Regions from separate parts of the Homo sapiens genome. Here all the other regions are linked to region 2. The links are contacts of gene promoters, found by promoter capture Hi-C in blood cells and fetal thymus (Javierre and others, 2016). All regions are on one chromosome and are shown on one strand. Each heading gives the region's core, a stretch centred on a gene start or on the middle of the fragment in contact. The rest is flanking DNA. Distances are from core to core; before and after follow the strand shown.

Region 1 (3,047 bases), core at 243-2,742, 44 kb after region 2:
TAGTAAATACTACCCAAACTTAACAAATATTAATATACGGAATGTACTAAAAAAAGAAAACATTACAGATAAAATTGAGATTCCCCCCAACCTTTTTTCTGAGGCGGGGGACAAAGTCTCACTCTGTCACTCAGGTTGGAGTGCAGGGGCACAATCCCAGCTCACTGCAAACTCTGCCTTCAAGTGATTCACTTGCTTCAGCCTCCTGAGCAGCTGGGATTATGGGCACGCACCACTACACCTGCCTAATTTTTTTTATATTTTTAGTAGAGACAGGATTTCACCATGTTGGCCAGGCTGGCCTCTAATTCCTGACCTGAAGTGATCTGCCCACCTCGGCTTCCCAAAGTGCTGGGATTACAGGCATGAGCCACTACACCTGGCCAGAGGTTCCCTCTTAAAAATTCACTTTATTTTATTTTTTTTTGAGATGGAGTCTCGCTCTGTCACCCAGGCTGGAGTGCAGTGGTGCGATCTTGGCTCACTGCAACCTCCACCTCCTGGATTCAAGCAGTTCTCCTGCCTCAGCCTCCCAAGTAGCTGGGGTTACAGGTATGTGCCACCACGCCTGGCTAATTTTTTTTTTTTTTGTATTTTTAGTAGAGATGGGGTTTCACCATATTGGCCAGGCTGGTCTCGAACTCCTGACCTTTTCATCCACCTGCCTTGACCTCCCAAAGTGCTGGGATTACAGGTGTGAGCCACCGCGCCCAGCCAATACTTCACTTTATTTCTATTTTTTCCTTTTCACTTTCCCCAGAGGGAAATGACTCTATGAAATTGGTGTGTATCTTTCCATGATTTTATGCTAGTATTCTGTAAGAGTGCATGTAGTGAGATGCATAACAATGTACAGCATTGTTTTGGGTCTCAAAATTGTATATAAATTGATAGAATCTCTCTCTCCTTTTTTTTTTTTTTTTTTTGTGAGATAGTCTCTGTTGCCCAGGTTGGAGTGTAGTAGTGCAATCATGGCTCACTGCAGCTTCGAACTCCTGGGCTCAAGCCATCCTTCCACCTCTGTCCCCAGTAGCTGGGACTACAGGTGCATACCACCATGCCTGGTTAATTTTTTTTTTTTTTTTAATGAGACAGAGTCTTGCTCTGTTGCCCAGGCTGGAGTGCAGTGGTGCAATCTCAGCTCACTGTAACCTCTGCATCCTGGGGTTCAGGTGATCCTCCTACCTTAGCCTCCCAAGTAGCTGGGATTACAAATGTGTACCACCATGCCCAGCTAATTAAAGTAACACAAATGTATTAGCTCACAGTTCTGTAGGCCATATATCTGGCTCAGCTGTGTTTTCTGCTTAGGGTCTCACAAGGCCAAAATCAAGGTGTTAGTCAAACTAGTTTTATTTGGAGGCCCCTGGAAAGAATCTGCTACCAAGCTCATGCAGGTTTGTTTTTTTTTTTTTTTTGGAGATGGAGTCTTGCTCTGTCGCCCAGGCTGGAGTGCAGTGGCACGATCTCGGCTCACTGCAACCTCCGCCCACTGGGTTCACCCATTCTCCTGCCTCAGCCTCCCGAGTAGCTGGGACTACAGGTGCCCGCCACCACGCCCAGCTAATATTTTGTATTTTTAGTAGAGACGGGGTTTCACTGTGTTAGCCAGGATGGTCTCTATCTCCTGACCTCGTGATCCGCCCACCTTGGCCTCCCAAAGTGCTGGGATTACAGGCGTGAGCCACCGTGCCCGGCCGCTCATGCAGTTCTTATAGTTGCAATTCTTGTGCTCCATTGCCCCCATTTCCCTTTTGACTGTTAGCCCAGGGCCTCTCTCAGCTTCTTAAGGAAACTTCCATGCCTTTGTCCTGTGGCACTCACCACAGGACAGCAGCAGTGCATCAAACCCACTCGTGCTTCAAATCTGTCTGACTTCCTCGTGTGTGTGTGTAGACAGGGAGCTGCCAAGGGAGAAGCAGCCAAGCAGCTAAGAGTCCAGGAGATAATAGCGCCAAAGGGATCTGAGGACACTCAAAATGTGTCTAACACGTGAGGCAGGATAGGAGTGTATTATTCCGTTCTCAAACTGCTATAAAGAATACTACCCAAGACTCAGTAATTTATAAAGGAAAGAGGTTTAATTGACTCATAGCTCCACATGGCTGGGCAGGCCTCAGGAAACTTACAATCCTGGCAGAAGGGGAAGCAGGCATGTTTTACATGGCAGCAGGAGAGACTACCATGTATAAAACCATTGGATCTCGTGAGAACTCACAATCATGAGAACAGCATGGGGGATACCACCCCCATGATCCAGTCACCTACCACCAAGTCCCTCCTTCAACATGTGGGAATTATGGGGATTACAATTCAAAATAAGACTTGGGTGGGGACACAGCCAAACCGTATCAGGTAGTCAAGGAAATGACCATTTTCTCATGACCATACAGCCAACACAATAAACCTCAGCATTCACATTGTAATTGAGCTCATTTAAGCAAAGCTATCTTCAGTAGGGACTTTCCCTTCTAGAGAGCATACACATTTTGATTTTACCTGTCCTCAAACTGATCCTTTGCACATGATAATAATAAAAAACACACCTCTAGGTGGAAATTTAAGATGCTACTGAGACATGTGGTGTATGAACAAGCATTAACAGCTACTGCACCTGTGCAGAGGACCACCCAGGACATGATTACTGCAACACCTCACCTCCTTATGAATAATAATGCAAAACTCCCATAAAGGGAGTTTCTCCAGCAATAATCAATGCTGTCTCACCCTTACGAGCAGCCGGCCCTGAATTCTCTCTCTCAGGTGTACTGTCTGTTCTGCACCTAACTTTCAAAATACTCCTTTTCTTTTGCAATAAATTATGCTGCATCTCCTTTGCTGTCTCATTTAAATTCTTTTAAACCAAGAAGACAAGAACTGAGGTATCACAACAGCTGTCAACACATGCATTTTGCTTTATTCATTTGCTTTATCTTATGGATCTCTCCATTTTGTAGAGTATTCCATTGTATAGCTGTACAGTAATTTAGATAAACTTTTGTATTGATAGCCTTTTCTTTTGGAGATGGGGGTCTCACTCTGTCACT
Region 2 (3,493 bases), core at 158-2,657:
GACCAGCCTGGCCAACAAGGTGAAACCCCGTCTCTACTAAAAATACAAAAATTAGCTGGGTGTGGTGGAGCAGGCCAGTAATCCCAGCTAATCGGGAAGCTGAGGCAGGAGAATCGCTTGAACCCAGGAGGCAGAGGTTGCAGTGAGCTCAGATCGGGCCAGCGTACTCCAGCCTGAGCAACAGAGTGAGACTGTCTCAAAAACAAACAAACAAACAAAGGCAGGGGGAGGGGGGCACATTTCCATGTTGACAGCTGCTCTGGCTCAGAAACTTTTAATTATCCACTAGTAGAGCCATCTGGATTACTGCAATAGTTCTCTAATAGGCCTTCTTTCTTTTTCTTGTCCCTCAAAATCTATAATATAGTCTCCCAACAGCAAGAGTGAACCTTTTAAAAGTGAGTCAGGTCATATCACTTGTCTGCTCCAATCCCTCCAGTGGGTTTTCAGTGATGACTTTCTTGTACCACCCTATTTAAAACCTCCATCCCTGCCCCTGCCCTGATTTGTTATCCTTTATCTGCTTTATTATCTCTATAGCACTTATCACCTATGTATCATAACACATATTTGACTTGTTTTTTTATCTCCTCCCATTGGAAGGCAGGGATCTTTGCTCCCTGCTATCTCAGATTCTACAATGGTGCTTGGCACATAGATAACACTCAATATCAGCATCCTAAGAGAGAGAAAAATGAAAAAGGAAAAGCACTCAATATGTTTTTGAATAAATGAATTAGTGTGTTTGTTATGACAATTTATGATAATCAAGGGGTTGGGTACTCATTACTGCTAAGTTAATTGAGCACTGTCTCAATTAATTGAGTTAATGTCTAAGCTTTCTGCATGTTTCATTTAATACCCACAATCTCCTGTGATGTAGTTCATTATTTTTTCCATTTTACCGAGTAGAAAACTGAGGACTAGAAGCTGATTCCCACAGCACGTTTCAGTTGAGTTGGATTTTGTTTTCCTGGGCCTGCTTCTTCATAAAGGGACTGGACTAAGAATACTCTTGACCAGCCCGTAAGAACTTGGCACTCGTCTCAGTAATCTGAGATAGCAGGGTTTGGCGTCCATAGCAACCACGGCGACAGGACGCGCTCGAGCAAGAACCAAAAAGCGAGAACAGGTACAAGGCCAAACTTTCTACATTCACAGACACCTACCAAACCCCGAACATGGAACACCAAATTAGAACGCTGACCAGTTCCTGGTAATGTAGAAAACACCCAAGTTAAAACGGCAACAGAGTGACACAGCAGCCATTGAAGATGCCCCACTTCAGGCACCGACAGGCGTCACGTGACGGGTGGGGAACGCCAACCGCCTGGGCCTAGCGCAGCTTCCTCCGCCCACCACGGAAGTGAGGCGGGGATACTAAAGCGACGGAGCCCGGTGGACGGAAGTGGGTGTTGGAGGCTTTAAGGTAGCTTTAAATTCGTGTTGTCCTGGGAGCTCGCCCTTTTCGGCTGGAGTCGGGCTTTACGGCGCCGGATGGCTCTGGACGTGAAGTCTCGGGCAAAGCGTTATGAGAAGCTGGACTTCCTTGGGGAGGGACAGGTGAGGCTCTCTGGAAGGACGGGGAGGGCCCCAAGCGGACAGCCCCGCGCCGCCTCCACCTTTGCGGGTTTTCCCGTGGAGGCCAGAGGTCTGGCTTGGCTGCTCGTTCTCGTTGGGGGAAACCGTCCAGACGCACTTGCTGCCCATTCTTTACATCCTGGGGGTGAATCCCTGAGGGGCCTCTCCTTGCTGAAGAGTAGCCTGGAGCTGGACGGAGACTGACCCGCCACGTTTCCAGCCGCCGCGAGTCTGCTCAGGAACTCTGGGCTCTTTGCTTCGCGAAATGTAAAAATGCAAAAAGGCAAACACAAAAACTCCCATAAACTTATGTTATTTCTATTTTTCTTTCTAGTTTGCCACCGTTTACAAGGCCAGAGATAAGAACACCAACCAAATTGTCGCCATTAAGAAAGTGAGTTACCTTTTTATGTTGTTTTTAAGTCTCCTTGAAGATGTCTGTATTATTAATTGACTGATAGCCATTTTATTAGTCTTGACCATACTCTGATAATGAGTTACTCATGTCATTTTCAGAGACAAAATAATTAATTAGTGCTTTGTGTTCCCAAACGGAACTCTAGGGTTGAACCCGTTTTAATTTCTATTGAAATGAAGAAGAAGCTGTATGTTATTTTTACTGCATAAATTCATATGTTGTGGGCAAGTACTGCCCATCTTTTCGGTCCTCAGAACTATTGGATACCATGATCTTTCTAGGTCACTGTTTATACCTCACCTGCATCCACTCAGTGTGTCGTATCTGTATTTTCTGTGTACGGATTTACCATGAAAGACTTTCACTAGCATGAACAACATTGATGTGAGGTCTAAAATGAGTTCAGTAGCTTCTTATATTCATTCAAAAGACCTGGGTCGGATTCAGTAGCTTCTTATATTCATTCAAAAGACTTGGGTCGGGCCAGCCGCGGTGGCTCACGCCTGTAATCCCAGCACTTTGGGAGGCCGAGGTGGGCGGATCACTTGGGGTCAAGAGATCCAGACCATCCTGGCCAACATGGTGAAACCCTGTCTCTACTAAAAATACAAATATTAGCTGGGTGTGGTGGCACCTGTCTGTAATCCCAGCTACTCGGGAGGCTGAGGCAGGAGAATCACTTGAACCTGGGAGGTGGAGGTTGTAATGAGCCGAGATGGTGCCACTGTGCTCCAGCCTGGTGACAGAGGGAGACTCCATCTTAAAAAAAAAAAAAAAAAGATTTGGGTCATAATTACATAACTCACGTTCACCTACATTGTTTCTTTTAACCTTCAAAACAATCTATAAAGTGGTTAAAAGTAACCCTATTTTATACTTGAGGTACCTGAGACTGAGTGACTAGGTGACTTGTCAAGATCACACAGCTAGTGATTGCTGAAGCTGGGATTTAAATCCAGGTGTCCTGATGTTGCTTTTGTTACCGTTGCTACTTTGAATCTGCTTCTCCTGCTTCAAAAACCCTAACTCCTTGGAAGTTATCCATATTTAACATTAATTCCCCCTTTTTTTGGTCATCTTCCAGCCTCCAAGTACTGTCTTGCATTCATTTAAAACCTGACTGACTACTTCTTCTCAATTATTCCTGCCATAATTTTTTTATTTTTTATTTTATTTTATTTTTTATTTTTTTTGAGACAGAATTTTGCTTGTTGCCCAGGCTGGAGTGCAATTGTGCGATTTCGGCTCACTGGAACCTCTGCCTCCCGGGTTCAAGCACTTCTCCTGTCTCAGCCTCTCCAGTAGCTGGGACTACAGGAACCTGCCACCACGCCCAGCTAATATTTGTATTTTTAGTAGAGACAGGGTTTCGCCATGTCGGCCAGGCTGGTCTCGAACTCCTGACCTCAGTTGATCCACCCACTTCGGCCTCCCAAAATGCTGGGATTACAGGTGTGAGCCACTGTGCCTGGCCTTCTTTTTTTTTTTTTTTTT
Region 3 (3,043 bases), core at 33-2,532, 35 kb before region 2:
GATCAGCCTGGGCAACATAGGGAGGCCTCATCTCTACAAAAAATTTTTAAAAATTAGCCAGGCATGGTGGAGCCACCAGTAGTCCTTGCTACTCCAGAGGCTGAGGGGAGAGGATCAGCCTCCTGCCTTGATTCTAGGAGGTCATGGGGCTGCAGTAAGCTGTGATCTTGCCACAGCACCTTAGCCTGGGCAATAGTAAGACCCCATCTCAAAAACAAAAAAAAAAAAGACATTCTTGAGTTAAAGGTGTGGGGTGCAGGAGAGCAGGACAGATTCATCACATTGTTACTGAAATGTCAGGGCTTTGGTCTAGGTCCTGTTGCTTGCTGCACAGAAATGTAATCACTGACATGAGTGTTGTCAGGAAGAAGGCTTTGAGTACTGTAGCCAAAGAGAGGGGAGATCAGTCTCATCTCCTAGATGGACTAAAATTAAGGAGGTGTTTTGTTTTGTTTTGTTTTTTTGAGACAGGGCCTCACTCTGTTGCTCAGGCTGGAGTGCAGTGGCGTGATCCTAGCTCACTACCACCTTCACCTCCCAGGTTCAAGTGATCCACCTCAGCCTCCCAGGTAGCTGGGACTACAGGTGCCCACCACCGTGCCTGGCTAATTTTTGTATTTTTTGTAGAGATGGGGTTTTGCCATGTTGCCCAGGCTGGTCGCGAACTGCTGAGCTCAAAGGGATCCACCTGCGTTGGCCTTCCAAAGTGCTGAGATTACAGGTGTGAACCACCACACCCTGCCAAATTAAGGGTTTATATAGCAGGGAAGATATGTACCCATGTATGGGAAGACAGGAATTAGGGAGGGGTAAGGAAGAGGAGTTAGTCAATAGGAAGCAGGTTAGGCAATCATGATGGGTGAGGGGTCTGATGTCTTATTGTCTAGAGGGTGTGATCTTATAAGTTTCAGTTCCTTGATACTATCTGGGAGTCCTGATGGTTTCCTGAGAAGGGAACTCAGGTAAGACAGTTGTAACTTTCTCAAGCTTTAAGACTGGGAGGGTCAGTTTCTATGTTTATTCAAAAGAAATCATAAACATCAGTTCTGTGGGACAATTGGGCCAGTTTCACTGTTGACACCAAAAAACAGAAGGGTCAGGCCGGTGCGGTGGCTCACGCCTGTAATCCCAGCACTTTGGGAGGCCGAGGCAGGCGGATCGTCTGAGATCAGAAGTTCAAGACCAGCCTGGCCAACATGGTAAAACCCTATCTCTACTAAAAATGCAAAAATTAGCCGGGCGTGGTGGCAGGTACCTGTAATCCCAGCTACTCGGGAGGCTGAGGCAGGAAAATCGCTTGAACCCAGGAGGCGAAGGTTGCAGTGAGCTGAGATTGTGCCACTACACTCCAGCCTGGGCAACAGAGTGAGACTCTGTCTCAAAAAAAAAAAAAAAAAAAAACAGAAAGGTCAAATAGGCTGAGGCAGTGTTTTATTAGCACATTTTAAAGTTTATAACTGTTAAAAAAAATTAATTGGGATGCAACTGGAATGCCATTAGGCAGAACCATCTTTAGCCTTGAGCTCCATCACCTTGGGATTCCTATGTAAGCCTGATGTAAACAGTAAAATGGAACTTAAGCTTACCCAATGAGAAACTGCCAACTAACTTCTAACTAGAGATGATCCACTTTAACCAACCAATTACATTTTGTCTTCTATGAACACCTTATAAAAGCTTCCTCACTCAACTCCCACAGTAGAGCACTTAACAGCTTATAATCCTGTGCTGCCAGATGCATGAATTGTCTTCTCAAATAAACTTGTTAGATTTTAATATGCCTAAATTTATCTTTTAAGACAACCAAATATAGCTGTAAATAGTAGAAAAATGAGTTCAGCTCTCCCAGGTTTGTGCATATTCCCCTTTTGACCTTCTCAGTTAGTTGCTTCTACAGTGTTTTTCACACCTGGCTGATTATCAGAATAATGTCTATTATAGTGATCACATTGTTGGTCCTATCCCAAACTTTCTGAATCAGCGTATCTTTTTTTTTTTTTTTTTTTTTTTTTTTTTTTTTTGAGACGGAATCTTGCTCTGTCACCCAGGCTGGAGTGCAGTGGCACGATCTGCTTGGCTCACTGCAACCTCTGCCTCCAGGTTCAAGCGATTCTCCTGCCTCGGCCTCCTGAGTAGCTGGGATTACAGACACACACCATCACACCTGGCTAATTTTTGTATTTTTAGTAGAGATGGGGTTTTGCCATGTTGGCCAGGCTAGTCTCGAGCTTCTGACTTCAAGGGATCCACTGTACCTGACCTTTTTTTTTTTTTTAAATAGAGATGTGGTCTTGCTATATTGCCCAGGTCTCAAAACTCCTGAGCTCAAGCAATCCTCCTGCCTCAGCCTCCAAAAGTGCTGGGATTACAGGCATGAGCCACTGAACCAGGCCCCGAATCAGCATATCTGAAGGTCAGGAACTAGGAATCCTTACTTAACGAACCTCCCAGATGACTGTGGCACTCTGAAGTATGAGAGCCACTGCTCTGCGCAGTCTTATTCCATACTGTTTTGCTCCAGCCATACCAAACTACTTGATCTAGGCAATTACTTCATATCCTTATTCCACCCTGTGCATAACTCTGGTTCATATTTGTTACTGCGCTATAGTATGATTGTGGATTTATTTTTCTCCACTAGATTCTTTCCTCTTTGAAAACAGATACTGTGTTTTATTTTATTTTACATTCCTGGCACCTGGCATAGTTCTTGAAAGCATGTAGTAAGTACTCAAAAATATTTGTTAAAGAAGTAAAAAAGCAGTTTGTTCCTTGAAACTATTCTGTATGCTGCAATAATGGTGGATGCATGTAATTATACATATGTCAAAACCCAAAGAATGGGTGGGGCCTCAGTAGCTCATGTCTATAATCCTACCATTTTGGGAGGCTGAAGAGGGAGGATTGCTTCAACCCTGGAGTTCCAGACCAGTCTGGGCAACATAGGGAGACCCCGTCTCTACAAAAAATGTAAAAATTAGTGGGACATGGTAGTGTATGCCTATAATCCCAGCTGCTTCTGAGGCTGAGGCAGGATGATCGC

The links. Contacts are between HindIII fragments. The CHiCAGO score rates a contact against its expected background, and 5 or more counts as called.
Region 1: a fragment that was not itself captured here is called in contact with the fragment with the promoter of CDK7 in region 2 in 1 of 17 cell types (neutrophils); the score reaches 8.1 in neutrophils.
Region 3: a fragment that was not itself captured here is called in contact with the fragment with the promoter of CDK7 in region 2 in 2 of 17 cell types (neutrophils and total CD4 T cells); the score reaches 5.3 in neutrophils.

The regions. Positions count from the first base shown.
Region 1 is chr5:69,277,797-69,280,843 of GRCh38, forward strand. CCDC125 (coiled-coil domain containing 125) reads right to left here. Exons shown (of 12, transcript NM_176816.5): 12 at 2,379-3,047. Among named protein-coding and RNA genes, the nearest start is that of CDK7, 44 kb to the left of the region's middle. The HindIII fragment of the contact is 7,449 bases long and covers 1-3,047 here.
Region 2 is chr5:69,233,479-69,236,971 of GRCh38, forward strand. CDK7 (cyclin dependent kinase 7) reads left to right here and starts at 1,408. Exons shown (of 12, transcript NM_001799.4): 1 at 1,408-1,563; 2 at 1,916-1,975. The coding sequence starts at 1,498. RefSeq lists enhancers at 1,130-1,658, 3,370-3,493. The HindIII fragment of the contact is 18,686 bases long and covers 837-3,493 here.
Region 3 is chr5:69,198,733-69,201,775 of GRCh38, forward strand. The region is part of intron 5 of CENPH (centromere protein H); the gene reads left to right. Among named protein-coding and RNA genes, the nearest start is that of CENPH, 11 kb to the left of the region's middle. The HindIII fragment of the contact is 594 bases long and covers 986-1,579 here.